7 separate regions of the Homo sapiens genome follow, and regions 2, 3, 4, 5, 6 and 7 are each linked to region 1. The links are contacts of gene promoters, found by promoter capture Hi-C in human tissues and cell types (Jung and others, 2019). All regions are on one chromosome and are shown on one strand. The core of a region is centred on a gene start or on the middle of the fragment in contact, and the rest is flanking DNA. Distances in the headings are between cores, read along the strand shown. Region 1 holds the start of ENDOV (endonuclease V). Region 2 overlaps RPTOR (regulatory associated protein of MTOR complex 1). Region 3 holds the start of TBC1D16 (TBC1 domain family member 16). Region 4 overlaps CCDC40 (coiled-coil domain 40 molecular ruler complex subunit). Region 5 overlaps RPTOR (regulatory associated protein of MTOR complex 1). Region 6 holds the start of GAA (alpha glucosidase). Region 7 overlaps RPTOR (regulatory associated protein of MTOR complex 1).

Region 1 (4,171 bases), core at 693-3,192:
TTATTCACCATGAGGTCATGAGAAGGGCACTTCAATGTTCTAAGAGGACTTGTGGGCTGGGTGTGGTGGTTCCCACCTGTAATCTCAGCACTTGGGGAGGCCAAGGTAGGAGGATCCCTTGAGCCCAGGAGCTGGAGACCACCCTGGGCAACATAGTGAGATCCTGTCTCTACAAAAAATAAAAAAATAAGCCGGGTGTAGTGGCTCACACCTGTGGTCCTAGCTACTCAGGCTAAGGTGGGAGGATCACTTGAGTCCAGGAGGTTGAGATCAGATCTTGACAGTGAGCCAAGATTATGCCACTGCACTTCAGCCTGGGCACAGAGTGGGGGAAGGGGAAAGGAAGGAAAGAGAGACAGAGAGAGGAAGGAAGGGAGGAAGGAAGGAAGGAAGGAAGGGAGGGAGGGAGGGAGGGAGGGGACTTGTTGCTTTTGAGGAAAATACTTGCTTTTTAGGAAAATTGGTCTGCTGGCAGTATGGAAAAGAAACCACTGAGGAGGAACATTTGAGCCAGGGCACCCATGAAAATGCTGCTCAGGAACCCACAGGAGTGATGGTGGCACAGCCAGGGAAGGAGCAGAGGGGAAACAGACAAGGGGACAGATTCCAGCGACATTTAAGAGGCAGAATAAAAGCGAGCTAGTGTGCAACTGGACGCGAGAGGAACGGAGGGGCCCAGGAGGATGCAGATCTCCAGCTTGGGCAACTGGGAGCGTGGTGGACAGGTCACTGAGATGAAGAACCCAAGATAACAATCAGACTTGAAGATAAAGCTCATGAGCTGATTCTTAATAGTCACAGAATTCCCTTAATTTTTGCCTTTTTTTCCCTTCCAAGACTCCCCAGACTTTTTTTTTTTTTTTTTTTTTTTGAGATGGAGTTTCGCTCTTGTTGCCGAGGCTGGAGTGCAATGGCGTGATGTTGGCTCACCGCAACCTCCGCCTCCCGGGTTCAAGCGATTCTCCCGCCTCAGCCTTCCGAGTAGCTGGGATTACAGGTATATGCCACCACACCCGTCTAATTTTGTATTTTTAGTAGAGACCGGGTTTCTCCATGTTGGTCAGGCTGGTCTCGAACTCCCGACCTCAGGTGATTCCCCCGCCTCAGCCTCCCAAAGTGCTGGGATTGCAGGCGTGAGCCACCGCGCCCGGCCAACTCCCCAGACTATTAATGACATCCTACAAAACGAGAAGCCGGGTTCTACGCTTGCACTGCTCCCTGTCCCGGAGACCGCACGCCCGAGCCCACCGAGGGGCCCGCCTCGAGCTCGGCGTCCTCCCAGGTTACCTCGAGCTCAGGGAAGCTGAGCACCACCAGGGAAGCACAAGCGCGGACACTGTCCCCTTTCACGAAGGACACGTCAACGCCCCCGACCCTCTGCAGACCCGAGAAGGCGGGGTCTCGCTGCCACGCCTCGGTGTCCCGGTCTACGACGTGGGCCTTCAGCCGAGCTTGCTCCCTAGGAGGACAGAAGCGTCAAACTTGGTCGGGGTCACACCTCAGACTCTGCCTCCTCCACCCGCGCGGCTGCAGCGGACAGAGCGCCTCTGCCGGGTCTTCTCCCGCTTCAAGGGAAAGCAAGGGACATACCGCCGAGGCCACAGTCCCTAGGAGCCCAGGCGGCGGAGACCCGCGCAAGCGCAGGCCAGACAAACTGGCCGGAAGCGAGAACCGCGCCCACCCCGCGGACTACAATTCCTGAGATCCCTCCGCTTCCGCGCCGGAAACTGGGCTTTGCTTTGGAGTCTCGGGCGGTGGCAGCTCCGATTCCACAGCCTGAAGACTATGAGCTCGGAGGGTCCGCGAAGGGCCGCCCGGCCTCGGCCCCCGCCTCCTGCGCGTCGCCTGACAGCATTACCGTTTCCACAGTGACAGCGTTTCCTCCGGCGGCCCTCCCGCCGCCTCCAGGGCCATGGCTTCGTCCCGGGCACCCCTTCCGCACGTCACTTCCGGAAGCGACTCGCTCTGACGCCGTCCGCCCTCGTTGCCATGGAGACGCTTGCGCTTTCCCGGGCCGCACTTCCCACCCGGGTCTTCAGAAGCCCGTGGCCGCTGGGTGAGCCCCTGCGTGAACGCACACGCACGCACACGGCTTCAGGTTGCCCCGCGGCGCCGCGCGCGATATCGGCTCGGATCCCGGGAGGCCGTCCGCCCCTTTTTCAGCGGATAGCTGAGGCCAGGTAAGTGACCGCGCGAGGACCCGGGAACTCCGTGACGCCCGTCCCGCCTCTGCTGTCCCCGCCGCAAGCGCTGCGCTCTGCACGGCGAGAGGGGCCTCTTGCCCTGTTGAGAGCCGGCGGGCACGGCACTTCTGCGCTTGGAAAAGGGTGGTCCAGCACTGCAGGTCCCACTCCTTGGCCCGGTCAGCGTCCGCCTTTGCTGAACCCCGAAAGGATTCACCAGGTCCAGGACAGCCCGGCAGTTGCCTCAGGAGCACTTACTGAGCGCCTGTCGTTGACGCCCCCACCTCGATGGCAGCTCAGGGGTGCCCTCAAGCTTTTGAGGGCAGGTGTCGTGTATTTAAATTCTTCACAGTTTAGCGGGCTGGACTCACGGGGGTGCTGCAGACTTGGACGGGGTTTCATCTGGGTCGGACCTTGCTGGGCAGAAAGCTTCTCCTACCAGACAAAGTACGGCGACCTTGGGGGGTCTTGGTTCTTACCTCGTGTTCCTCATTGAATGAGTGTTGGTTCAGTGCTCTCGCTGTGCCAGGTGTTGTGCGAAGTACTGTGAGGGAGAATATGTATTTATTTGTGGGGAGCCGACTTTAAACCGGTGGTTGGGAAAGGCCTGAGAGGCGATATTGAAGACACCTGAAGGGTGAGTGAAAGAGCACGGCGGGTGAGTGGAGCAGCTTTCTCGTGCAGGTCCCGGGGTGGGAAAGAGGTTGGTGTATTTGAAGCACTGAAAGGCAGCCACTGAAGCTGAAGTGTAGCAGTTTAACCCATGGTTTTATATTCTCCTGGGAGGATTCAGAAGGGTGTATGTGTGTATGTATATATAATAGCCTGAATATAAACGTCAAGGGTGTTAGGTTTTGAAGGGAAGGTGAAGGTTAAAGAATGACGCACAGTGAGATTGCCGGCGCGCGGGCGGCTCTACAGCAACACAGGTGTATTGCAAACACCTGTCGGGGGCCAGCTTAATGCCAGAGCCCACCAGCGATTACAGGCTGGGGTACTCATAGGCCTGGGCAGGAGGGATCTAGGCAGTATGGCTTGCTGTCCGGGAAGATGTTAACGTGTTCCCAGGATGAGGTGGTTCCGGCAGAATGTGGTGTTCCTGGCGCTTTGTCCCAGCAGAATATGTTAAGAGGCAGGCTGTTTCTCATGGCTCGAACCCCCGTGGAATGTTTCACTTTGACCAAGGTCTACAAAATGGAAAGGGGCTTACAAAATGACGCAGTTTGGACTAACAAAGGGGAAAATACAGAGGATGAAATTAGACTCTAGAGGTTGAGGCTCAGGAAAGGCTTCATACAGCTTTGGGAACTGACAAGGCTTTGAAAGCAGGGTCAGTTTTCAGCGAATGAGCGTCACCCACTGCACCCTGCGCACCCTGCTCCCCTGCTGCGGTGTCTTTCCCACCAGAGTGTAGCAGGACAAGCCGCAGACAAAACCCCTCAGACACCGAGTTAAAGAAGGGCTTTATTCAGCTGGGAGCTTCGGCAAGACTCACGTCTCCAACAACCGAGCTCCCCGAGTGAGCAATTCCTGTCCCTTTTAAGGGCTCACAACTCTTCAGGGGTCTGCGTGAGAGGGTCGTGATTGATTGAGCAAGCAGGGGGTACGTGACTGGGGGCTGCATGCACCCGTAATTAGAACGGAACAGAACAGGACAGGGATTTTCACGGTGCTTTTCTATATAACGTCTGTAATCTATAGATAGCATCACTGATTAGGTCAGGCGTCGATCTTTAACTACCAGGCCCAGGGTGTGGTGCAGGCTGTCTGCTTGTGGATTTCATTTCTGCCTTTTAGTTTTTACTTCTCTCTTTGGAGGCAGAAATTGGGCGTAAAACAATATGAGGGGTGGTCTCCCTTATTCTCCCTCTCTGAGAATCTCACTCAGTAGTGGGAGTTGTCACTTTTATTTTTACTACCTATGTTTTCTTGCAAGACAGATCGATAGTGATTCATATAGTACAGTTGTGCTGAAGCATTTTGGTGAA
Region 2 (4,171 bases), core at 1,062-3,561, 420 kb before region 1:
ACACATGCAAATAGAAACTGCATTATTTTATATAAGAGCAGATTATTCTGATCTCTTAAAAGTACCGAGTGAAGCCACGCTCAGAGTACAGAAAGGCCAGTTTCCCGAAGGTTTCCAAATATCTGTTTGCGGCAACAGGCCCAGAGCTCTTCGGAAAAGCGCAGGCACTCTGAAAGCAGCTCTGGCAGGCTGAGGGTGGACAGCTGGCGTCTGTGAAGGTTTGCCACTCTGCAGGAGACCCTGTCATTGCCCCCCAAGGTTTGTGGTCCAGCAGGAAGGGAGGGAAGGCCTTTGTCTAGAAGCCCAGTGTTGATGCCAAGCACATGACGGGGAGCTGGCTTCCGCCTCACGGTGTAAAATGCGGGGCGGTCTGCAATGCCCTTGAAAATACCCCATGAATACAAAGATGGGGTAGAAGTAAGTGGTGGGCATGGGGTGCTCACTGTAAATTTCTTCCAACTTTGCTGTAGGTTTGAAAATTTTCACAATCAAATGTTACCAAAAAAATCAAGCAATAATGGGAGGGTAACAGAAGATTATAAAAAAGAAAGCCCTCTTAAAAGGCCGTTTTCCCAGTCATCCCACCCGTGGGACATGTCAAAATCATCTGAGGAGTTAAAACACCCCACACAGGCACATCACACACACCTCATGCACACCCACTCACGCGTACACACGCACGCACGCAGGCACACCCAGGCTCCCGACTGCATGTGTTAAAAGCTTCCCTGACGGCTGTGGTGTGCACTGAAAGTTAAAAGTCTGTGCAGTGGACGGAACCTTCCTGACCATCGGTGCCCCTGCCCTGGGCTGGAGGGTGGCATCCTCACATCAGTGACAGCTGGCTCTGGGGCAGTGCCTGCACATGAATTCCCAAGGGCCCTGTGCTGGGCTCTGTCCAAAGCACTTTTCTTACATTAACTCCCTTTGTCCTTCCAGCACCCCTGGGGTTGGATACCACCATAATCCCTCCCTTAAATGAGGAGACGACCAAACTTGCCCTCGGTGGCAAAGCTAGGCTCTGTGGCTCTGGAGCCTGACACGGTGGTGTCTCAGGTGTGGCCCCAACGGGAGGCGGGGATGCTGGTCCCCTCCTGCCTCTGCCCAGGCTGCCGCCTCCCCCATCCCTGGCCTCCCCGTGTCTGCCGCGCCCTCTTGCCGATTGCTCCCTTGCATTCTGCACAGATGTGAGAGGCTCCTCTTTCCTCACGGGTTTCTGGAGGGCAGGGCCTCCGTCTTATTTATCTATTTTCAGACTTGGCGCCTCACGTAAGGCAAAAGCTCATTAAGAAACCACGAGGGGGTCCTAGGGAGCTGCCGCGAAGGCCCGGGGCCACCCTCACTTGCAGGTGCGGCGACTAAACCCAGGTTCCGCCGTAGGGTGGCTCAGCTCTCCAGCGCCCGTGCAGTGCGGCCGGGGGCAGAACGCCCTCCAGGGTTCAGCACCAAACCCCCCGTGGGTCACTGTCCCACAGGGCTGAGAGTCAGAGGCCTGGGGGAGATCCACAACGCGTCTGTGGTGAAAAGGCTAGAAAGTGTAACAGGATCACCACTCACAGGGAGTGAGTCCGCATTAAGAAAAGTAGATCTGTAATAGCAAAATTTTGAGATAGGACTGTTTTAAAAGTTGATTCTTTCAAAGTTTAACTTTAAACCCTGGTTGACTCGATGTTTTAAACTCTGGCAACTACATTTTTTCCAGGCAGGTGAACAAAATCTGACACCCGAGAGTCCTGGGCACCACCCCCAGTCTGGGGGCTTTGCAGTCCAGGTGCCCAGAGAAGTGGCTGCCGCCGCGGATGCACAGGGTGCCCTTGGAGGGACTCACCCGAAACGCAGTGCCTTCCTCGATGATCGTCGGCAGCTGAGACAGACAGATGTCAACAGCCAGGTCCCAGGCTTGCCTGCGGAGAGAACAGAGGAAATCCACTGAGCATTATGGACGGGCTTCCACACGAGGCCACTTCACAGGGCACAGGAGGAGCCGGCTGAGCCTGGGCAGCAAGGGTCTGGGCGGAGGCCACGGCAGCTGGTGGGGGGCATGTTTACGGTTTCACTGCTGTTCAGATTTGGGCTGCAGAAGACGTCCGAGGGGAGGCCAGGAGAGAGTGCAGGCCGGGAACGCTGGCGCTGCCAGCATCCTCACCATTTTGTCACATTTTTTCTCTTTAAAATAAAATAAGAAAAAAAGCCTGGAAAAATAAAGGAATGCTTCCCATTTTCTGCTGTGGCTTCTGACTGTGACTTGAACCCATGTACTGGCAGCCCACGTGTTCTAAGCAGCTGTGGTCCCTGCGCAGGCTCTGATGGGGCAGCGTCCTGGAGGGACGCGGGAGAGACACCAGGGCCAGGCCCAAAGTGCCTCATCAGGAGGGGTCGGCATGCAGTCAGGGAAAGGAGTCCTGGCGGTCAGGGCTGAGCTCTGCGCTGTGATGGTGCCGTCAGGCCCCTCCCTGTCCCTCCCTTGCCTCCCCCCTGCTGCTCCCTGGTGTGGACAGCCACCTGCTCAGTCAGTTCCTGCTGCCTCCCTGTGGGTCTCACCAGGCACCCTGCAGTCTGGGGTCTCCTACCATGCATAGAGCTGCTCCCCCCAAGCCACAGTGGCTCCACAGATGACCCCGGTGATGTGCTTCCCCTGTCGAGACCCCTTGTCACAGTAACCGACCACACTGTCCCTCTTGAGTTCTCCCCCTTGGACATTATGAGGCTTTCTCCTCCGGCCTCCTTCCCGTCACGGTGAACGTGAGACAGCCTCCTCCCCGGGCTCCCGACCCCGTCCTTCAGGGCCGCACTGCTGCAGCTTCCACAGCCCTTTCCCTGCCTGCTCTCATCCTTGCTCAGGGCGCCCAATGCCACCTGCTCACCGACACCCCCAGACGCTATTTAAAATAGCCTCACACCTCTCCCCAGAGCTCCACACCCCAATTCTACTGTAGGAACAGCCGGCAGTCTGAATTGGACCTCACACCTCCAGGCCAGTTCCTGGGATTCCCAGGTGTAGGCAACAGCCTTATGGGGCACCCCCAGCCACCATCGCCACTTTCCTGACATGGCCTTGTCAGAGCCTCGGTGTTGTCCTAACAGCCCCCTCCCAATGGGCCCCTCTGCCGGCACCTCCCTCCAGGCCAGCTGCCCTGTGAGCTTTCTCGGAGGCTCTAACACAGCCCCCCTAAGCCTTTCTGTGGCTCTGGCCTTCTCGTGGTACCCCAGGCCTGGCACACCCCAGCACCTCTGACATCTCTAGCCCTGTGGCAGAGGGACAGCAGCTGCCTCTGACCGACCCCTGCTTTGTGTCAGCTGCTCTACAAGGACACTGTGAGGGAGACATGATCATGAGACTGTTTCACCCTAGAGAGACAGCCACGCGCCCAAGGCCGCAGAGCCACACGCTGAATTACAGACATCCTGCAGGTGCCCTGGCATCCAGCCGTACCCAACTTCTTTCCCAGTGCCAGGCACATAGCAGGCTTTCAATATGCATTGGCTAAATGAGAGTGAGGGCGAGCAGGAAAGCACCCTCTGTGCATGAGCAGCCCCGTGTGACTTTCGAGAAGGAGAGAGGGAAGAAAAGATCTGACCGGGAGCCATGAGCCTGGGCTCTGCTCCCAGCTCTGCTACCCACTAGCTCCGGCCCAGGGAGCGGCTGACCTGCCTGCCTCGCTGCCTCGCCCGGAGGATGAGGGCCTGACCAGGGAGCCCGTGTGGGAGGCTGCTTGGTGAAATTCAGCGTGTGGCTCTGGGGCTCTGGGCGCGTGGCTCTCTCTCTAGGATCCGTTTCACCATCTGTGAAATGGGCTTATGATCATGCCTCCCTCACAGCGTCCTCGTAGAGCGGCTGACACAAAGCAGGGGTCAGTCGGAGGCAGCTGCTGTGGCCCCGCCACAACATCCAACATGAACTCTCAACTGGAAGTGAATCATCACCTCGCTCTCAGCACAGCCACAGAACACAGTCTTGATCTCCGCGGATACAGGTTGAGTATCTCTTCTCTAAAATGCCTGGGACCGGAAGTGTTTTGGGTTTCCGATATTTTCAGGTTTTGGAATATTTGCATATACATAATGAGATATCAGGGGATGGGACCCAAGTCTAAGAGTAAACTCCATGTATGTTTCATATACCTCTTACACACACAGCCTGAAGCGAATTTTACACAATTTTGTGCATGAA
Region 3 (4,171 bases), core at 692-3,191, 380 kb after region 1:
TGGGGAAAAGAAATACAACGTAGAGAAAGTAGCGCGATCAGAGTAAGTGTTCTGGGGACTCTGAGTTTCTCCACGATTTACGTAGCACAGGAATATATATATATATATATATATATGTATATCTTTTTTAAAAAATTAAAGATTCAAGCTATTTTTATCTGTCAAAGGAATATAGATATGTTCAAAGAGACAGACAGTGACAGTTCCCTGTGATCTTCCCTTTCCTTCCCAAGATAATCATTGATAACATTTAGGACCACATTCTTTCAACATTTTTCTATGTTTTAAACACACACACACACCCTGAATTAGAGATCATAGTATACCTACCCTTTTACATTTATGCCTATCGTTTTATTAATAATACCTTTAGTCTTTCCATGTCAATACATACAGACCCACCTTTAAAAAAATGAAACAATACCGATGTGTCTAAGGTAAAAAGGCCAAACTCTTTCCAATCGTTTCTATCCTTTTAAACAGAGCCTAAGCGAGCAGAGGCCCGGTGGCAGGGATCTTCACTCAGCCGCCCTCCCTGTGCGCGCTCAGTGCTTCCACCCAGGCCCCAGGACGGTGACCGCGGACTATCGCGGGCCGCCTAACCGCAGGGACCCCTCCCATCGCGGGTCACCCCCAAGCCTGCGAGAGGGGATCTGTCCTTGCAGGAGGGAGGCGCGGGGCCGGGCTGGTCTCCGGCCACAGCGAGTGGCCCCGGAGCAAGGTCAGGGGCGGTATCCAACAGCCCCGCGCCCTGCAGAGCCCTCTACTCTTAGGAGGACTGCGCGCAGGGACCGCCACGCAGAGTGGTTGCCATGGTGACTGCAGAGTGAGCGGTCCCGGGTTTTAGAGGGAGTCGCGCGCTTGGAGTAGGGGAAAGAGGGAGGCCGAGAGAGGACAAAGGGACAGGAGGGGAGAAGTGAGAAGGGTTGGCGGGGGGGTGAGGGGCTGAACGCAGTGGACGGGAAAGGCCAGCAAAATGGCGAGAGAAGGGACACAGGCGAGAGGAAGGGGGAGTGGAGGCGAAGGGGCGAGGCAGGAGCCGACGCGGGGGCCACCTGGAGCGGTGAACGGAGAGCGCGGCCTGGCGACTCCAAGACCCGCTGCCCCTCGGCCCGGCTTACCGGCCCGCCGCGCCGCCCGGTTCCGCCATTTCCCGTTGCTAGGCGACGCTGTCAACATCCGGCCGGGCCGGGACCACGCGCGCTGCGAGGGCGGGGGCCGCCGGGGGCGGCGCGGCCTTTGTGCCATCTCCACGCACGCAGAGGCGCGCGCCGTCTCGACGTGTCGTCCCTTAGACTGTAATGATTAGAGCACGACCATGCTTTTCCTTTATCGCTCTCTGCGCCCGGGTCCCGCCTCGGCTGCGCTCAATTTCTGTAAAGCGACAGCGGCGTCAGCGTGTGCCCAGCGGGCGGCTCGAGGTCCCGAAGGGACCTGCCGGGCACCTGGGGACCCCGGACTGCTAAGCGCCCGGGAATGGCAGGCGGGCTGGGGGCACCGGGGGCCGGGGACCCCGCGCATGGCGAGCGCTTTTCCATCTCCTGCCCTAGGGGGCTCCGGTGCCCTTCTCCAGGGGTCCTACGGAGACTCCTTGCATGGACGCCCGGGGGGTCTTCCGGAGCGTATCTTCCCTTCCTAGTCCGAAATAGGAGAAATCTCCCTGCAGAGGGCGGCAGCGGAGGGCCAGCGCGCACGCGGAGCGTCCGAGGAGCCCTGCCTTTCCTTTGGGGACGCCAGGCTCGGGACGGGGCACAGTCCCCGAGGCCGGGACGCGGCGAGGCCTGAGGGAGGGCCAGCAGGGAACTAGAGGCTTGGGCCCAGGGCTGGGCCAGAAGGTGGGCGGGGAGACCGGCGGGGGCAGGCAGGGGCCGGGCCGGGGGCGGGCCCGGGGGCGGGCCGGGGGCCGGGCCTCCCCGCGCGTCCCCGCCCCGCCGCGCCTCACTGGCGGCGGCAGCGGCGGAGGCGACGGTGGCGGCTCTCGGAGCCGGCGCGAATCCGGCCCCCGCAGCGGGACCCGGGTGGGTATCGGGGCCCGGACGGGGCCGCGGGGGCGGGGTCCGAGGGGTCCACCGCGCAGCGAGCAGCGCCCCCTCGGCGGAGCTGGGGCGGGGGCGCGCGGGGCGCGTGGGGCGCGTGGGCCTGCAGCCGCGGGACCGGGGAGGGGCCGGGGTCCGGCCGCCGTCCTCGGGGTGCGGGGCGCCAGCAGGAGCGGGAGCGTTGTGGGAGGACCTGGATCACGGAGGGGCACCTGGGGACTTTTCCCCGCGGCGAGTGAGGGCGCCCGGGCCCGGAATGGGCCTAATTCGGGGAGACTGGTCCCCGCCTGTCTGGAGCGGTGGACCGGGGAACTTGCGGTCTTTGTCTGGCTGAATCGGCGGAGCAGACGGATGAGAACTTGTGGGGTGCCGGCGCGCGCCCACACAGCCTCCAAAGTGTGCGTCCCCCCAGCAGCGCGCGCTCAGCTTTCCCGGCCTGTCGGGCTTGGTGGTCTGGGCTGTTTAAGATCCGCGTGTCGGGATACTCACTTCCGTTCCGCCTGGGCTCCCTTGTTCTTTCCTTTGGGAAAAAAAAAAAAAGAAAAAGAAAGAAAGAACGAAAGGAAGGAAAGAAAAAAAGGAAAGGCAACTGAAGATTGCTAAACATAACCTAGGGGATCCTGCCGGAAGCCGCTGAATCCTGAAATCCTGTGATTCCCACACTCGGAAGCTGGTGTCGTATATTGGCCACAAAGTAGTTCAGATTTGATTCAGAAATAGGAAATGAATAGAAAAGACATAACAAAAGTTAGTCTCGCCTTATGGTAAAGTTTGTTTTACTGTCTGGGTCAAGTTCAAATGAGAAGCTGGGCTGATTGGCCAGCCTCTGCGACTTGATCCTGAAGATCTGCTTTCTTTTCTACCAGAAGGCTCCTAATTCTTTTATCTGGAATAAAAAGGGAACTCCGTCTTAAAGATGCTCACGTGAGGCGGCATATTGCCAGAGGGTGGGCGCAAAGACTGGGGGCTGGAGATTCCATTCCAAATCTGTTACTGATTGATCAGAACACTTTTTCAAATCCATGCCTCAGTTTTAGAAAATCCTCATTAGAAACGCTAACAGTAAAATTGGTGAATACTAAACACTTTTAAGAACCATGAAAGCTTTTGTAAATAAAGAATAAAGTGAGGAGTAACTTTTGGTATTAACTACAAAGTTCATTAATGGATGTTGTTTGCATCCTGAGCGTGGTTATTGTGCGCATATTTTTTTGTAAGTGGCATGTTTATGGTGAGACTATGGCTAACGAAAGTTTTTATGGCGAAAGTTTTTATGGCTGGGCGCCGTGGCTCACGGCTGTAATCCCAGCACTTTGGGAGGACGAGGCGAGCGGATCACCTGAGGTCAGGAGTTCGAGACCAGCCTGGCCAATATGGTGAAACCCCCCATATCTACTAAAAATACAAAAATTAGCCCGGTGTGGTGGCGTGAGCCTGTAATCCCAGTACTCAGGAGGCTGAGACAGGGGAATCGCTTGAGCTCGGGAGGCGAAGGTTGCAGTGAGCCAAGATGTGCAACTGCACCCCAGCCCGGGTGATAGAGCAACATTCTATGTCTCAAAAAAAAAAAAAAAAAGGAAAAAAAAAGTTTTTATCTGTGGAATTATTTAATCCTCTAGCAATTTTGGTGATTGCGTTAGTAGTTCCTAATTATCATGCATGAATTCACTTAACCCACAAAACAAGCTCATGAAGTCAGGACTGCAGTTATGCCCATTTACAGATGGGAACACTGACGCTTAGAGAAGTAACTTCCCAAGCTCATGCAGTTAGGAGTGACAGAATTAGGCCTTAGGCCCAGGACGTCCCAGCTCCAGAAAACCGTTGTACAACTTTGCCCTCTGTCTTACAGAGGGTGCCCACCATTCATATACAAACATTCTTCCAAGTGGTTCATAACAGTGCAAGGAGGTGGGACTAATCCCATGTCACCACTAGCTGCTAATCTCAGTTCACTTCAGTATGGAAAGCATCCCCCAGGCTTCAGGATAAAGCCATTGAGTTTGCAGAACCTACCTACAATTGCACTGGTCTCTGTCCACAGTTTTGGGTAATAAGGTGCAGTGGTTAAGAACATGGCGTAGAAAGATGGACTGCTGGCTTCAAATACAAATCCTGGACTGGGCATAGTAGCT
Region 4 (4,171 bases), core at 519-3,018, 340 kb after region 1:
CTCCACCCTCTGAGCTTTGCATGTTCCACTAACCCGGGGCGGGCGGCAGATGGAGGTGTCAGGCTGCTGGCACCTCTGCAAGGGCAGAACACTAACCTGACCATGAGCGGGGACTTGCACATCTGTCCCCAATAAAAGCAATTCCAACCTTAAAAAAATAAAATTAGTTGGGCGTAGTGGCAGGTGCCTCTAATCTTAGCCACTTGGGAGACTAAGGCAGGAGAATTGCTTGAACCTGGGAGGTGGAGTTTTCAGTGAGCTGAGATCGTGCCACTGCACTCCAGCCTGGGCGACAAAAGAGAAGCTCCACCTCAAAAAAAAAAAAAAAAAAAGTAATATTTTGGGCCAGGCACGGTGGCTCATGCCTGTAATCCCAGCACTTTGGGAGGCTGAGGTGGCTCATGCCTGTAATCCCAGCACTTTGGGAGGCTGAGGTGAGCATATCACTTGAGGTTAGGAGTTCAAGACCAGCCTGGCCAACACGGTTGAAACCCCATCTCTACTAAAAATATAAAAAATTAGCCAGGTGTGGTGGTAAGGACCTGTAATCCTAGCTACTCAGAAGTCTGAGGCAAGAGAATTACTGGAATCCGGGAGGCAGAGGCTGCAGTGAGCCAAGATCGTACCATAGCACTCCAGCCCGGGCAACAGAGCAAGACTCCACCTCAAAAAAACCAAGAGTAATATTTTGACCTCCTCTCATGAATCACGAATATCCTTAACGTTATCTAGAATGGTGAGTCTGTTCCAGAAGGTTTTCAACTTACTTTGCTCAGATCCATCAGAGTAATCACTATCTATGACAGCTATAGCTTTACAGACTGTATTACTGCAATAGTAAGACTTGAAAGTTGAAATTACTCCTCAACCCATGGGTTGCAGAATAAATGCTGTGTTACAGGTGTGGAAACAACATTCATCTTGCACAGCTCCAGCTCCATCAAAACTCTTGGGTGACCAGGTACATTTTCTTTCTTTCCTTTTTTCGGTTTTAGAGACAGGCTCTTGCTATGTTGCCCAGGCTGGTCTAGAACTCCTGGCCTCAAGCAATTCTCTCACCTTGCCCTCCCAAAGTGCTGAGATTACTTGAGCTAGCATGCCCACCAGGTGCATTCTCTTTTTTGAGACAGAGTCTCGCTCTGTTGCCCAGGCTGGAGTGCAGTGGCGCGATCTCGGCTCACTGCAACCTCCGCCTCCTGGGTTCAAGTGATTCTCCTGCCTCAGCACCTGCCGCCATGCCTGGATAACTTTTTGTATTTTTAGTAGAGACGGGGTTTCACCGTGTTAGCCAGGATGGTCTTGATCTCCTGACCTCGTGATCCGCCTGCCTGGGCCTTCCAAAGTGCTGGGATTACAGGCGTGAGCCACCGCGCCCGGCCGGAAGGTTTGATCTTCTGTCCATACCACCTGAACTTTCTCCAGACGCGCAATTAGGCTGCTTCCCTTTCTTTTGTGTGTTCATTAGAGCAGCACTTTAAATTTTCTTCAAAAACTTTTCCTTTGTGTTCACAACTTGGCTATCCCTTTGGTGCAAGAGGCCTAGCTTTTGGCTTATCTCAGCTTTTGACATGCCTTCCTCATGAAGCTTAATCATTTCTAACTTTTGATTTAAAGTGAGAGGCGGCCAGGAGCGTTGGCTCACACTTGTAATCCCGGCACTTTGGGAGGCCGAGGCAGGCAGATCATTTGACGTCAGGAGTTCGAGACCAACATGGTGAAACCCTGTCTCTACTAACATACAAAAATTAGCCGGGCACGGTGGCAGGCACCTGCAATCTCAGCCACTCGGGAGGCTGGGGCAGGAGAATCGCTTGAACCCGGGAGGTAGAGGTTGCAATGAGCCAAGATCGTGCCACTGCCCTCCAGCCTGGGGGACAGAGTGTCTCAAAAATAAATAAATAAAATAAAAATAAAGTGAGAGGCATGAGACTCTTCCTTTCACTTGAGCACTTAGTGGCCATTGTAGGCCTAATTTCAATACTGTTGAGTCTTGGAGAATAGGGAGGCCCAAGGAGAGGGACAGAAATGGAAGAACGCCAGCCGGCGAGCAGTCAGTACACACACGACATGTCTTGATTCAGTTTGCTGTCTTAAACAAGGGCAGTTCGTGGCTTTGCCAAAAACCAATTACAATAGTTAACATCAAAGGTCACTCATCACAGATCACCATAACGGACGATGACAATGAAAAAGTTTGAAATATTATGAGAACGACCAACATGTGGTGCAGAGGCAGGAAGTGAGCACGCACCGCTGGAGAGATGGTGCCGGTGGACTTGCTCCACACGGAGCTGCCGTCAACCTTCAATTTGTAAAAAATGCGATTCCTGTAATCCCAGCACTTTGGGAGGCTGAGGCGGGTGGATCATGAGGTCAGGAGATCGAGATCATCCTGGCTAACACAGTGAAACCCCGTCTCTACTAAAAAATACAAAAAATTAGCAGGGCATGGTGGCATGTGCCTGTAATCCCAGCTACTCTGGAGGCTGAAGCAGGAGAATTGCTTGAACCCGGGAGGTGGAGGTTGCAGTGAGCCAAGATCGCCCCACTGCACTCCAGCCTGGGTGACAGAGTGAAACTCATCTCAAAAACAAACAAACAAACAAACAAACAAACAAACAAAAGCGATTCCACGCAGTAGGAGAAAGCGAGGCACACTGAAACGAGATGCGCCTGTATTTACCCGGGAGAAACGGAAACACGTCTCCATGCAAAGATCTTTTCAGGACAGCCACAGCAGCTTTCTTCACGGTATTCCAAAGGTAAAAGCCAAATGTCCATCAGTTGGTGGATGGACAAATACATCTGATGTATCCGTGCAAGGGAATACTATTCAACAATAAAAAGGAACAGACTACTGATCTTGCAACATGGGTGGGTCTCAAAAGCATGATGCCAAGTGGAAGAAGCCAGACAAGAAAAGCTACAGACTGCGCGATTCCATTTATATGACATTCTAGAAATGGCAGAGCTATAGGCACAGAAGGCGGCACAGCGGTTGCCAGGGCTGGAGGTATGCAATTTTGTACATAAATTATCCCCAGTCATCCTGACTTCAAGTAAATAAGTTACTCATTTTCTTTTTTTAGGAAGGAGCAGCCTTATAAATGTCTAAATTTGACAATAAAAATAAGATGCCCAATTTAAAAAGATACAGTTACAAACTGTGCAACAGAACTCCTAACACTCGGGGAAATGTGTGCCTGAGAGTGTGCTGACATGCTAATGAGTCTTCTTGTCACAAAAAGAGAAAGTCGATGGTATTTTTAAATCCTTTTCTCTGTTTTTCAAATGTCCTGTAACGCAATCACTTATCCTTGATAAGGATTATTATTTTTTTAAATCGTACTTTAAAAACTCCGTAGATCAGCAGGCACCAATAGAAAGTACAGGTTCTCCTCAGCTTACGGTGGGGATGCAGCCCGGCAAACCCATCGTAAGTTGAAAATATCCTAAGTCCAAAATGCAGGCTGGTGCCGTGGCTCACGCCTGTAATTCCCAGCACTTTCAGAGGCCAAGTGGGGGCAGATCACCTGAGGCCAGGAGTTCAAGACCAGCCTGGCCAACATGGTGAAACCCCGTCTCTTTTAAAAATACAAAATCAGCCGGGCATGGTGGTGGTGCATGTCTGTAATCCCAGCTACCTGAGAGGCTGAGGCAGGAGAATCACTTGAACCCAGGAGGTGGAGGTTGCAGTGAGCTGAGATCGCACCATTGCACTCCAGCCTGGGCGACAAGAGTGAAACTTCATCTCAAAAAAAAAAAAAAAAAAAAAAGCTGAAAAACCCAAAATGCACTTCCTGCAGATTTCCTGCCAGGCACCCCGGCTCAGCCCAGCCTCCCTCAAACGTGCTCAGGACACTCCCATGAGCCTACAGGTGGGCAAAATCATCTCACACGAAGCCTGTTTGATAATAAAGTGTGGGGCATCCATGTAATTTATTGAATACCGTGCTGAAAACCAGGGAGGTTGTGTGGGACTCAAAGCCCAGTTTCTGTTGCCTGCCTGTTGCTTTAATACCATGGTAAAGTCCAAAAATCGTGACGTCGGGGACTGTCTGTAAATGAAACAAAAAGAACGGATGGAATCTGGAATATGGCCCAGGCATTGGGCACCGTGCCTCTGAGGATTAAGGGGGGGACACAGGAGGTGTCCAGCAGCCTGTGGTCA
Region 5 (4,171 bases), core at 997-3,496, 330 kb before region 1:
CCACACAGCTTGCAGAACTCCTTCATTCACGTGTCTACAAATACCTATAATTCGGCTGTAATGGAAAGCATTCTGCTGTAGGGGCCAACCTCATCTGCCCATCTAGGCTGGGGATGTGGAACAACAAGGTACAGAATGAGGCTTCAGACTGAGAGCGCCACCTGCTAATGCGGGGTCGTGGACCAAGCGGTCAGCATGAGGGCTGGAGCATCGCATGACAGAGACTGGTCGTCCCAGATCCAGGGCCTGGACGCTGTTTGTGACTTACACAATTCCTAGGGCTTGTTTTGTGAATACCACAGGGACAAGATCACTTTTGTTTACTCAGACTGTGGCAGGCCTCCATGAAGAGGAGGCGCTATTGTAAATGAATATTGTAAGTGACGATGAATATGGGTGGGGGTGAGATGTGTCCAGAGTGTGTGGCTTTTAATCACCGAGGGCTGCGATGCGCTCCCCGGCTTGACGGGGAGAGAATGTGTCTGTGTCTGCATTTTTGCTCCTTCCTTGCTCCTTACTTTTAGTTGCGTAGTTCTTAGTATTTCTCACGGCTCTTCACATATACTATTTCATCTGCTTTTTACCAACCCCATGAGGTTTCAGCTCCATGTTAAAAGAGCTGTGACGACGAGGACACAGAGTCCCCAAAGATGACACGGACTGCCCTGCAGCTGGGCCAGCACATGCGTCCAGAGTGCCGGGCACTGCCCCTGATTTTAGGGCTGCTTTTGCCCCATTATCCCATCTGGGTCCTTCTGAATCTCCACCAAGCACCTACGACGCCAACACGAAAGCTGCCGAGCCCTCTCCAGACAGCACGCCCAGTGCTTTCGGAATGAAATACACACAGAGCTGTATTCACTCACAGCCACCTCGCACCACGGTGATGGTACAGAACGCACTGTCATCTGACTCTGACAAACTTTGTTTTTAACATCTCAAATTTCTCAGCTGGAAGGTACTAATGACTGCTAGTTTTATTAATAACCCATTCTACCACAGGAACATTAAACCCAGAGTACAAATCAAATTCTCATATACTTAATAATAAATATAATTTAACTTTTTCAATAAAAACTGCAATTTCTAGAGGAATGAGGTTTTTTTTATGATGATAAATTACCTGTAGCATAAAATTTGCCATGTTAACTGTTTCAAATGTACAGTTCGGTGACATTAGGGATATTTACATGCCACGCAACAATCACCAAGAACCACCAAGGAGTGGGTTTTTTTAAACAAGAGGGAAGAGGGAAGGCAAAATCATGTTTAAAACCATTTCCTGGGCTCTGGGCTCCATAAGCTAAAATAGCATCGGCAATGCAACCTGCTGTACACAGAAAATTAGTTTCCAGGTCTGCTGTGACAGGCCCACTAAGCCAGATGATGGGTCCAGGAACGACGTGGACCTGCAGCTACTCAGACCCGCGTCACAACAGGTGGATGGGATAGGTGGGAGCGGCCATGTGTGCCTGGTGCTGGGAGGGCACGGGAAGGCTATGAGGAAGTGCTGACTCCTGCGCTTGGTGGAAACGCACTCTCCCTGGCCTCCGGAAAGGGGCTGGGAGGGAGGCATCTGAGGCAGACCTCCGTGGAGTGAAGCACACAGTCCTGAACTGTGGAAGGCGCCATTTGCGATGTCTGTCTGGGACTGCTGGCAGACTTGTGTTATTTTAATCAGCACCACTACCACTGGCCACGTAAGAATGGCTGGCAGAGGATTAAAAAGGAAACAACTTTAAGTGGGAGGAAATGGCCCTTTACGCAAAAACTAAGTTCAATATTCCTATTTTCCTTTTCAAAAGGACATGTATATAGCAGAAATATAGCAAAAAATATCAGTGTGGTTTACTAGTTTTAGGTTTTCTTTTTATATAACCAGGTGTGGTGGCTCACATCTGTAATACCAGCACTTTGGGAGGCTGAGGTGGGAGGATCACTTGAACCCAGGAGTTCAAGATCAGCCTGGGCAAGATGGAAAGACCCCATCACTCCAAAATTTTTTTTTAATTAGCCAGGTGTGGTGGTGCATGCCTGTAGTCCTGGCTTCTCAAGAGGCTGAGGTGTGAGGATTGCTTGAGCTCTGGAGTTTGAGACCAGCCTGGGCAATATGGCAAGACCCCTGTCTCTACAAAAAGTTGTTTAAAATCAGCCTGGTGTAGTGGTGCATGCCTGCAGTCCCAGCTACTCAGGAGGCCGAGGTGGGAGGATCCCTTGGGCTCAGGAGTTCAAGGTGGCAGTGAGCTGTGGTGGCACCACTGCACTCCAGCCTGGGTGACAGAGCAAAGCCATCTCTAAAGACAAACAAAAAAAGCCCCCAAAATGAAAAGCTTTTCTTTTTGTTAAGTTGCTCCTACGTTAAATTTACTTTCTAACCAGTCCTGAGAACTGAGCAGCAGGCTCTCCCGCCACAGCCTCCAAACACACACCGCAGCCCCTCCATCCACCCAACAGGTCCTCCCGCCACAGCCTCCAAACACACACCGCAGCCCCTCCATCCACCCAACAGGTCCTCCCGCCACGGCCTCCAAACACACACCGCAGCCCCTCCATCCACCCAACAGGTCCTCCCGCCACGGCCTCTAAACACACCCCGCAGCCCCTCCATCCACCCAACAGGTCCTCCCGCCACGGCGTCTAAACACACACCGCAGTCCCTCCATCCAACAGGTCCTCCCGCCACGGCCTCCAAACACACACCGCAGCCCCTCCATCCACCCAACAGGCCCTCCCGCCACAGCCTCCAAACACACACCGCAGCCCCTCCATCCACCCAACAGGTCCTCCTGCCACGGCCTCTAAACTCACACCGCAGTCCCTCCATCCAACAGGTCCTCCCGCCACGGCCTCCAAACACACACCGCAGCCCCTCCATCCACCCAACAGGCCCTCCCGCCACGGCCTCCAAACACACACCGCAGCCCCTCCATCCACCCAACAGGTCCTCTTGCCACGGCCTCTAAACACACACCGCAGTCCCTCCATCCAACAGGTCCTCCCGCCACGGCCTCCAAACACACACCGCAGCCCCTCCATCCACCCAACAGGCCCTCCCGCCACGGCCTCCAAACACACACCGCAGCCCCTCCATCCACCCAACAGGCCCTCCCGCCACGGCCTCCAAACACACACCGCAGCCCCTCCATCCACCCAACAGGTCCTCCCGCCACGGCCTCCAAACACACACCGCAGCCCCTCCATCCACCCAACAGGTCCTCCCGCCACGGCCTCTAAACACACACCGCAGCCCCTCCATCCACCCAACAGGTCCTCCCGCCACGGCCTCCAAACACACACCGCAGCCCCTCCATCCACCCAACAGGTCCTCCCGCCACAGCCTCTAAACACACACCGCAGTCCCTCCATCCACCCAACAGGTCCTCTCGCCACGGCCTCTAAACACACACCACAGTCCCTCCATCCAACAGGTCCTCCCGCCACGGCCTCCAAACACACACCGCAGCCCCTCCATCCACCCAACAGGTCCTCCCGCCATGGCCTCTAAACACACACCGCAGTCCCTCCATCCAACAGGCCCTCCCGCCAAGGCTTCCAAACACACACCGCAGCCCCCCCATCCACCCAACAGGCCCTCCCGCCACGGCCTCCAAACACACACCGCAGCCCCCCCATCCACCCAACAGGCCCTCCCGCCACGGCCTCCAAACACACACCGCAGCCCCCCCATCCACCCAACAGGCCCTCCCGCCACGGCCTCCAAACACACACCGCAGCCCCCCCATCCACCCAACAGGCCCTCCCGCCACGGCCTCCAAACACACACCGCAGCCCCTCCATCCACCCAACAGGCCCTCCCGCCACGGCCTCCAAACACACACCGCAGCCCCTCCATCCACCCAACAGGTCCTCACGCCACGGCCTCTAAACACACACCGCAGTCCCTCCATCCACCCAACAGGTCCTCCCGCCACGGCCTCTAAACACACACCGCAGTCCCTCCATCCACCCAACAGGTCCTCCCGCCACGGCCTCTAAACACACACCGCAGTCCCTCCATCCACCCAACAGGTCCTCCCGCCACGGCCTCCAAACACTGCAGTCCCTCCATCCAACAGGTCCTCCCACCATGGCCTCTAAACACTGCAGTCCCTCCATCGCTGCCAACCATTTGTGCCAAGCTTCTGAAATCTAACACTTTTCATACCAACCC
Region 6 (3,133 bases), core at 1-2,500, 310 kb after region 1:
AAATCCCAGGTTGTCACTTGTACTTTCGATCAACTAGTTATAAATTCAGAGGTTCCCAGGACTCCCTCTTCAGGGTCACAGAACTCAGGAAAGTGCGTTTCTTACAGTTGCTGGTTTATTACAAAGGATAAAACTCAGACAGCCGTATGGAAGAGATGCGTAGGGCCTGGTGTGAGGTGGGGGCAGTGATGCTGTGCTCTCTGCTCGCACCACCCTCCAGTGCCTTGGTGTGTTCCACAACCCGGCGGGAAGCCCTCTGATCCCTGTGGTTTCTTACGGGGTTCCATTGTGCAGGCATGGTTGACTAAGCCACTGGTGATTCACTCAATCTCCAGCCCCTCACCCCTTTTCCATCCCAACCCGTCATCAGGCCTTGGTCTTTCTGGCCATCTGCTTCCATCCTGAAGCCACCTGGTGTCCCCGGTCATCAGTCACCTCATGAGCAAAAGGCTCTCTCATCACTCGGTTTCCAAGGGTTTCGGGTGCTATGTGCCAGCAACCAGGGACAAAGACCAGAGACAGTCACCCCTGGCCTGGCCTAAGGGGGTCTTTGTGATTGAGACATTCAGATTTCAGAGCTGGCCCAGGGGCCCCCTCTCAGGCCACGGTGCTCCTCACCCCAGGGATTCAGACCCAGCCATGTGCGTCCTGCAGGAGCAGGAGAGGTGGCTCGGGTCCCGGCCAGGACTGAGCACTGCGTCGATCAAAAGGGGAAAGGAAACCCTAGAAACGGGAAGATGCAGCCTCCAGCCCCAAGCCCAGCACAGGAGGGCGGCTCCCCGTTCATCTCTAAGCTGAACTCAGATAAAGACCGGGAGGACTAGAGGTCTGGGGCTCAAGCTCCGCTCAGGGGAAGAGGCTGGGGGCACGGCTAGGCACGTTCAAACCCGCTTCTGGGATGTTACCGCCGGCAGCGCGGGGCAGACGTCAGGTGTCTCACCCGCTCCGTGCCTCAGTTTCCCCGTCAGCTGCGGCACGCGCAGAGCCTCCCTCGCTGAACAACGGGCGGACGAGGAGAACCTAGAGGTGGCCGGGGTCCTTCGCGTCACCGAGGTCACTGTCCTACCTGCTGCCTCATCCCCGACCTCCACCCGCGGCCCCGGCGACAACCTCAGCTTTCCCAACTGAGAGGCCGCGCGGGCAGCCGACCGCCCCACCGACCCGGCCCGCGCTCAGGGAAGCCCCGCAGCCCCGGCCCGGCTCACCTCCGCGCACGCGCGCCCTGGCCGCCCGCGGAGACTCCGGGGTCGTGCCCGGGGGCGCGCAGAGGCGGGTCACGTGACCGGCGGGAGCTCGTCGCGGGGCGGGGCCGCGGTGGGTCACGTGACGCGGCCTCCCGCGCAGGCGCCCGAGGCAAGGGTGCGCGTCCGCGCTACGCCCCCCAGTGGCGGCTCCGGCAGAGCGGGCCTGGGCGCGTCCTCGCTCTCGGAGGGGGCCTGGGGAGCGCGTCTGGCTGCGCGTCCGGCGTCCCGCGGGGAGAGGCCCACGCGTGCTGCCCGCTGCCGGTTCCTCTGGGGTCAGAGACGGGGCGAGGCCCCCGCTGGCGCAGTCCCGGCCCGGTCCCCGTGGGGTCGGAGATGGGGCGTGGCCCCCGCTGCCCCGGCCTGGGTCCCCGCAGCTCGTAGGGCTTTGTAAGGGGCTGGCCCAGCCGCGCCTTGCGCCCAGGGATTCCTCCTGCCAACGCGTCCCGAGGGCATCATCGGAAAGGCGGCCAAAGGCGCTCAGCGCCAAGTTAGAAACAGCCAACATTTGGAAAGTCCTTAAGTGTGCTCCATAACTCACAGTTATTCCAGAAAGGAATAATCAAAACATTGTGATAACCCATAAAACTGACAATTGAGAAAACATTAAACTGACACAGGGGGAATTTTTTCATAAAATGAGAAAATGCTTACATTAAGAGGAGCACATTTTTACATGTGAGATACAAAAAACACACAGTATAACCTTAACTTGCCTAATAAAATGTATGTGCAGAAAAATACAAAAGGAGCCACACCAAAACACAGAGGTGTTGTTCCTGGGTAGGGGCATAGGGGCATTAAAAGCCCCCTTTCCAGCTTGCAGCGAGCCGAGACCGCGCCACTGCACTCCAGCCTGGGCGACAGAGCGAGACTCCGTCTCAAAAAAAAAAAAACAAAAGCCTCCCTTCCACCTCTGTTGTGGTTTCTGTATTTCTACAATGTTTTAAAATAAGTAAGGCTGACTCAGAAAGGCTTACTAGATATTCAGAAAAAAGATTTTATTCTTCTGCTGAAATGTTTGAAAGTGAAATTATTTTGTAGAGCATTTTCCCTTTAAACTGCAAAGAAGCCCCAAGGTCATTGGTACTTGGAAGTCCAGGGAGAAAGAGCGCTGGGTTAATGATGGAGAAAAGATAGGTGGGCAGACTGGGGCGTAGTCCCTTGGTGTGGACGCCCCAGCGTGCTCTTATTTCAGTGCTCACCCTGTTACGTGTGTCTGGGGCCACTGACTTTCTCCTGCAAGCTGTGGATCTGAATTTAACTCAAATGGGGACATGGGGGCAGGAAAAGGGACCTGAGAGTTCTAAGGGGTGGGGATGGGAAAACTGGTAAAGAAGGTGGTTTGTGGGTTTTCAGATGCACCTAGTAGAGGGAAGTGCTGGGGGGACCAGCCTCCCGGGCCAGGCTGGCTGGAGCTGCCTTAACTTTCCCACCTCTGCTCAGCCCACCAGCTTGTGGACCTGTGGCAGCGTTGTGTTGTGAGAGGCACGTGCAGATTTGGGAGTGCTGCAAACCAAAGTGTTACCTGGACGAGTAAGCCCAGTGTGGGAGTGTGGGTGTGTGGGTCTGCAGTCACAGGCTCTGTCTTTGCGATGGGATGCCATGGGAAACGCTAGGATTTTACCTGGTTTATTAAATTGCTGAGTGGCTAAAAAGATTCCTATGGGTGGGGCTGGCTTATTTCTCTTAAACGATGCCCTTCTGAGGGTACATGTGGTTTTTAGGAACACAAAAGATTCCAAGTCCCTCATGACAAACACAATTCCGGATCTCTTCCTGGAGGCCTTGCAAGGCGGAGTCCAGGCTGCTCCCTAGGAGGGCCCTGGTGACTCGAGCTTGTTGGCGATCATCTGGCTGACCTTGTGCAGGGCCTCCTGGAACTGGGGGTA
Region 7 (4,171 bases), core at 605-3,104, 290 kb before region 1:
AGGAACGTCCACTGAAGCTAACTTCCCACCCCTTCTCCAGGGTCTAGGGTCCAGGTGGGGTGAGCGCCTGCCAGCCTCTTTTCATGCACATTAAAACCACTTCCCCTTAGTGAACACAGGATATGTTTTTCAGAGTCAGAAAGACTTCCGGAGTCATGGGCTGCAGATACAGGTGAGAAAAGAACACATGCAGAGCTTGCCAGACGGCGAGGCAATCAGAAGGAAGGAAAAAGCGCTGTCAACTAAACTCGAGATTTCGGAGTCTAATTCCACAGATCCACCCTGCTTTCTGGTTGCTAAGGCTACAGAAATCCCCCATGCATAGTGGTGAAGAACAAAGGCACGGAAAGATAAGGCACCCCAAAATAAGAACAAGCCACGGTGCTGATCTCCACATCTGTCTCCCTGGAGCACGGGCCCATCGATCTGCAGGGGCTGGGTTCACTGCAGGGCCCACAGATCGCTGGGAGATTTTCTAGTGAAATTGTCAAGTGCCTCCTGCTCCATCTCACTTATTACATTACTGCTGCGGCAGTTTTTCTCAATTCTACTCTCCTCAACACAGCTATCGAACTAGGATTGCTGAAGTCACAGCTCCACAGGAAAATCATTCGCTGTCTCCTGAGATTGCTCCTGAACAGGAGTGCTGTTCTTCCACGCCACACAGAAGGCCACGGGGTAGATTATTCAGGGACACCAATAAAATTAAGGATTCATCATTTCTGACCCTGGCTCTGTGAAGGTCTTATCCCATGGGGCTGCGAAAAACGGATTTAGCTTCATTTTCTTACCTATTGCGTAGAGAAGGCACATTAATGGACTAGCATGAAAGGCGCCACAGATATTAATAATACGCCTCCTGGGGCTTCATGGGAATTAATTAATATTTTTAAGGGCTTTGAAATGAGAAACACTAAATTAAATGTCACCACATTGTGTTAAGGTTTTGTCTCACAACTAGAATGCCAGGGATAATAGCTGTGTGGTCTGAGAGACAGGAGAGGCACGGGAGCATCTGATCATCCGGGGGAGTTACGACAATTTCTGCTGGACATATAAAATGACAAAGCAAGTCTCTAAACTACAGCCTATTGTGCTAGGCATTTTTCCTGAAATGCCAAATCTCAAGGTGCAAGAAAATATATGCACAGGAGTTTTGGAGGATGTGACAGCAGAAGATAATAAAAGAATGAATAACCGAAGAAAAGAAAACAAAACAAAAAACAAAACAAAACAAAAATGGGCCCTTGGTTTAATGAAGGAAAATGCAGCTCCAAATTTCATTTCCTTCTCAGTGACGGGCTCTTGTCCTAAAATGACACCTGGTAAATTTATATGCTAATAAGGCCTAAGAAATGCTACTGCAATCAGATTCTGCATTTTCCACGTAGACTTTTATTGGTATTGGAGCTCCTTCTCATACAAGTGCAGACTTCAGACCCTGGAGAGCCCTGAGCATGGGAGGGACTCTGCTCCCAGTGGCCCTCGTGGCGGCATGGTCCCGCTAGAAGCTCTGGTGAAGCTGCACAAACTGCCGCTGGTGTGGATCAAGGAGAGACGGCCACCTGGGAAGAGGAGGGGCTCAGGGGCTCTACTTGGTGGGTCTTCCCCTTTGACAAAATCCCACCAGGGGTAGCCCTGTGCCGCTGGGGCAGGCTGGACATAGACATCTGTAGAGTTTCTAACAAAGACACTGGCGTCGTACTAGGCTGGGTCTGTGAGTACAAGTGATATCGCTGCCATCCTCCCATCCTATAGCAATGAATAGCAGGTCAAGTTTAGATCCAACAAACCGAAATGCCTGCAACACTCTCAGAACTGTCCTGGAGGAACAAATGTCATTTCAGGACTCAGGCCAGTTCTGGCCCCATCTGGGGTCTAGTGAAAGTTTCACCCTACCCCTCTCCTTCTCAAGTAGGATGCAAAGATTTCCAGGGAAATGTTGGTAGGAGGGACCTTTAGGCGGACCTGACCTTCTTCCCTGCCCGGCATTTCCCTGGAAGGCCTCGCCTCCTATAGCCCTTGTTTACCCTCACCCTTAAGGGTGTTAGGATGAAAAACAAGTAAAATACAGAGAAACAAAACAAAAGCCAAAAAGAGTGATGGCAAATGCTACCTTTCGGTTGATATGGAATGAGCATTATGGTCTCCGTGAGAATAAATGGCAAGAATATATAACCTGTGCCCTTTCCCATGATTCCACCCTAGTGCAACCAGGTGGAGCCGCTGAGGACACAGAGACTTCACAGCATTTGTTCCCAGATGTGAAGCAATCCATCAGTGTGTCTGAGGCCTTTCAGCAGAGAGGAATTGTCCAGTGCACATCTTCTGTGTCTTCCCTCCTAAGCTTGCTCCCCTCTCTCCTCAATCCATATGGATGGGGTCACTAACCATTTGGACAACAGAAACCTGAGAATCACCCAGCTGGACAACAGAAACCCAAGAATCACCCTTGACACCTTCTTGTCTTTCACCCTTTCCATTTTTATGTCATCAATCATTGCATCCTGTTGAGTCTACCTCTTCAATCCTGACTGAGTCCATCCACCTCTTTCTATCCGTGCTATCAATACCCAGGTCAAGCCACTACCAAACCACCACTACCACCACCATCATCTCTACCATCACCACCACCACCACCATCACCATCACCACCATCATCATCACCACCACCACCATCATCATCTCTACCATCACCATCACCATCATCACCACCACCACCACCACCATCATCACCACCACCACCACCACCATCACCACCACCATCACCATCACCACCACCTCCATCATCACCATCACCATCATCTCTACCATCACCACCACCATCATCGCCGCCACCACCACCACCATCACCATCATCACCATCACCACCACTTCCATCATCACCATCACCATCATCTCTACCATCACCACCACCATCATCATCACCACCACCACCACCACCATCACCATCACCATCATCTCTACCATCACCACCACCATCATCACCACCACCACCACCACCACCATCACCACCACCACCATCATAACCACCACCATCACCATCACCACCACCACCATCACCACCACTACCACCATCACCACCACCACTTATCTATTTCTTAGATCATTGGAGTAACTTCCCAACTTATCCTCCAGCCTTGTTTCACTCCAAATCCATTCTCCAAAACTCAATAGGTCCTTCTCCCGCTTAGAAACCTTTGATGTCTTCCCACTAACTTTGAAAACTCTTTAGAAAGACCTACGAGTCCCTGCAAGATCTCCAGCCTGATCACTAGACATAATCTCTGAGAGTCTACACTTCAGCCACAAGAAAGGATCTTTTAAGCCTTTTGCCTCATTATGTTCTAACCTACTTTCCAGCCTTCTGCCCAGAACCTTCTTCCTACCTTTTCTCCATGTCCTATTCCAAGTCTTGCCTGGTCATTTTCTATTCATTCTTCAAGTATCATGTTAAATGTCCCTTGTCTTTTATCATGTTGAAAGCATCCTTCTTGGATGCTCTTCCAGACACTGGATAGGAAGCCATGCCAAAGGCTGCATAGCACCTCTAGCTCCCCATCACTGCACCAGGGTACTGTGCGTAGCACCTCTAGCTCCCCATCACTGTACCAGGGTACCGTGCACAGCACCTCTAGCTCCCCATCACTGCACCAGGGTACCGTGCACAGCACCTCTTGCTCCCCATCACTGCACCAGGGCACCGTGCACAGCACCTCTAGCTCCCCATCACTGCACCAGGGCACCGTGCACAGCACCTCTAGCTCCCCATCACTGCACCAGGGCACCGTGCACAGCACCTCTAGCTCCCCATCACTGCACCAGGGTACCGTGCACAGCACCTCTAGCTCCCCATCACTGCACCAGGGTACTGTGCACAGCACCTCTAGCTCCCCATCACTGCACCAGGGCACCGTGCACAGCACCTCTAGCTCCCCATCACTGCACCAGGGTACCGTGCACAGCACCTCTAGCTCCCCATCACTGCACCAGGGTACCGTGCATAGCACCTCTTGCTCCCCATCACTGCACCAGGGCACTGTGCATAGCACCTCTAGCTCCCCATCACTGCACCAGGGTACTGTGCATAGCACCTCTAGCTCCCCATCACTGCACCAGGGTACTGTGCACAGCACCTCTAGCTCCCCATCACTGCACCAGGGTACTGGAC

Evidence for each region. Contacts are between HindIII fragments. The study calls those that stand out against the background at their distance.
Region 2: a contact is called between a fragment that was not itself captured here and the fragment with the promoter of ENDOV in region 1, in 2 of the 25 tissues and cell types used here (dorsolateral prefrontal cortex and lymphoblastoid cells).
Region 3: the fragment with the promoter of TBC1D16 here is called in contact with the fragment with the promoter of ENDOV in region 1 in 1 of the 25 tissues and cell types used here (adrenal gland).
Region 4: a fragment that was not itself captured here is called in contact with the fragment with the promoter of ENDOV in region 1 in 4 of the 25 tissues and cell types used here (adrenal gland, dorsolateral prefrontal cortex, hippocampus and 1 more).
Region 5: a contact is called between a fragment that was not itself captured here and the fragment with the promoter of ENDOV in region 1, in 1 of the 25 tissues and cell types used here (dorsolateral prefrontal cortex).
Region 6: the fragment with the promoter of GAA here is called in contact with the fragment with the promoter of ENDOV in region 1 in 2 of the 25 tissues and cell types used here (adrenal gland and mesenchymal stem cells).
Region 7: a contact is called between a fragment that was not itself captured here and the fragment with the promoter of ENDOV in region 1, in 2 of the 25 tissues and cell types used here (IMR-90 fibroblasts and lymphoblastoid cells).

Annotation. Positions count from the first base shown.
Region 1 is chr17:80,412,938-80,417,108 of GRCh38, reverse strand. It overlaps ENDOV (endonuclease V), which reads right to left and starts at 1,942. Exons shown (of 10, transcript NM_173627.5): 1 at 1,859-1,942; 2 at 1,288-1,459. The coding sequence starts at 1,914. RNF213-AS1 (RNF213 antisense RNA 1) reads left to right here and starts at 1,941. Exons shown (of 2, transcript NR_029376.1): 1 at 1,941-2,180. RefSeq lists an enhancer at 1,420-1,509. The HindIII fragment of the contact is 5,195 bases long and covers 1-3,400 here.
Region 2 is chr17:80,835,655-80,839,825 of GRCh38, reverse strand. RPTOR (regulatory associated protein of MTOR complex 1) reads right to left here. Exons shown (of 34, transcript NM_020761.3): 10 at 1,829-1,904. Among named protein-coding and RNA genes, the nearest start is that of CHMP6, 150 kb to the left of the region's middle. The HindIII fragment of the contact is 7,748 bases long and covers 1-4,171 here.
Region 3 is chr17:80,033,642-80,037,812 of GRCh38, reverse strand. TBC1D16 (TBC1 domain family member 16) reads left to right here and starts at 1,941. Exons shown (of 12, transcript NM_019020.4): 1 at 1,941-2,018. It overlaps CCDC40 (coiled-coil domain 40 molecular ruler complex subunit), which reads right to left and starts at 1,171. Exons shown (of 20, transcript NM_017950.4): 1 at 1,122-1,171. The coding sequence starts at 1,150. RefSeq lists enhancers at 369-663, 1,563-1,682 and a silencer at 1,873-1,942. The HindIII fragment of the contact is 13,824 bases long and covers 1-4,171 here.
Region 4 is chr17:80,071,437-80,075,607 of GRCh38, reverse strand. The region is part of intron 10 of CCDC40 (coiled-coil domain 40 molecular ruler complex subunit); the gene reads right to left. It overlaps LOC124904074 (a long non-coding RNA gene), which reads left to right and starts at 4,072. Exons shown (of 2, transcript XR_007065931.1): 1 at 4,072-4,171. The HindIII fragment of the contact is 9,664 bases long and covers 1-4,171 here.
Region 5 is chr17:80,747,857-80,752,027 of GRCh38, reverse strand. The region is part of intron 5 of RPTOR (regulatory associated protein of MTOR complex 1); the gene reads right to left. Among named protein-coding and RNA genes, the nearest start is that of RPTOR, 210 kb to the right of the region's middle. RefSeq lists enhancers at 2,736-3,235, 3,236-3,737. The HindIII fragment of the contact is 4,968 bases long and covers 1-4,171 here.
Region 6 is chr17:80,099,698-80,102,830 of GRCh38, reverse strand. GAA (alpha glucosidase) reads right to left here and starts at 1,250. Exons shown (of 20, transcript NM_000152.5): 1 at 941-1,250. CCDC40 (coiled-coil domain 40 molecular ruler complex subunit) reads right to left here. Exons shown (of 20, transcript NM_017950.4): 20 at 2,218-3,133. The coding sequence ends at 3,056. RefSeq lists an enhancer at 644-753 and a silencer at 1,084-1,703. The HindIII fragment of the contact is 18,678 bases long and covers 1-3,133 here.
Region 7 is chr17:80,699,292-80,703,462 of GRCh38, reverse strand. All of the region lies in intron 3 of RPTOR (regulatory associated protein of MTOR complex 1), which reads right to left. Among named protein-coding and RNA genes, the nearest start is that of RPTOR, 160 kb to the right of the region's middle. The HindIII fragment of the contact is 8,995 bases long and covers 1-4,171 here.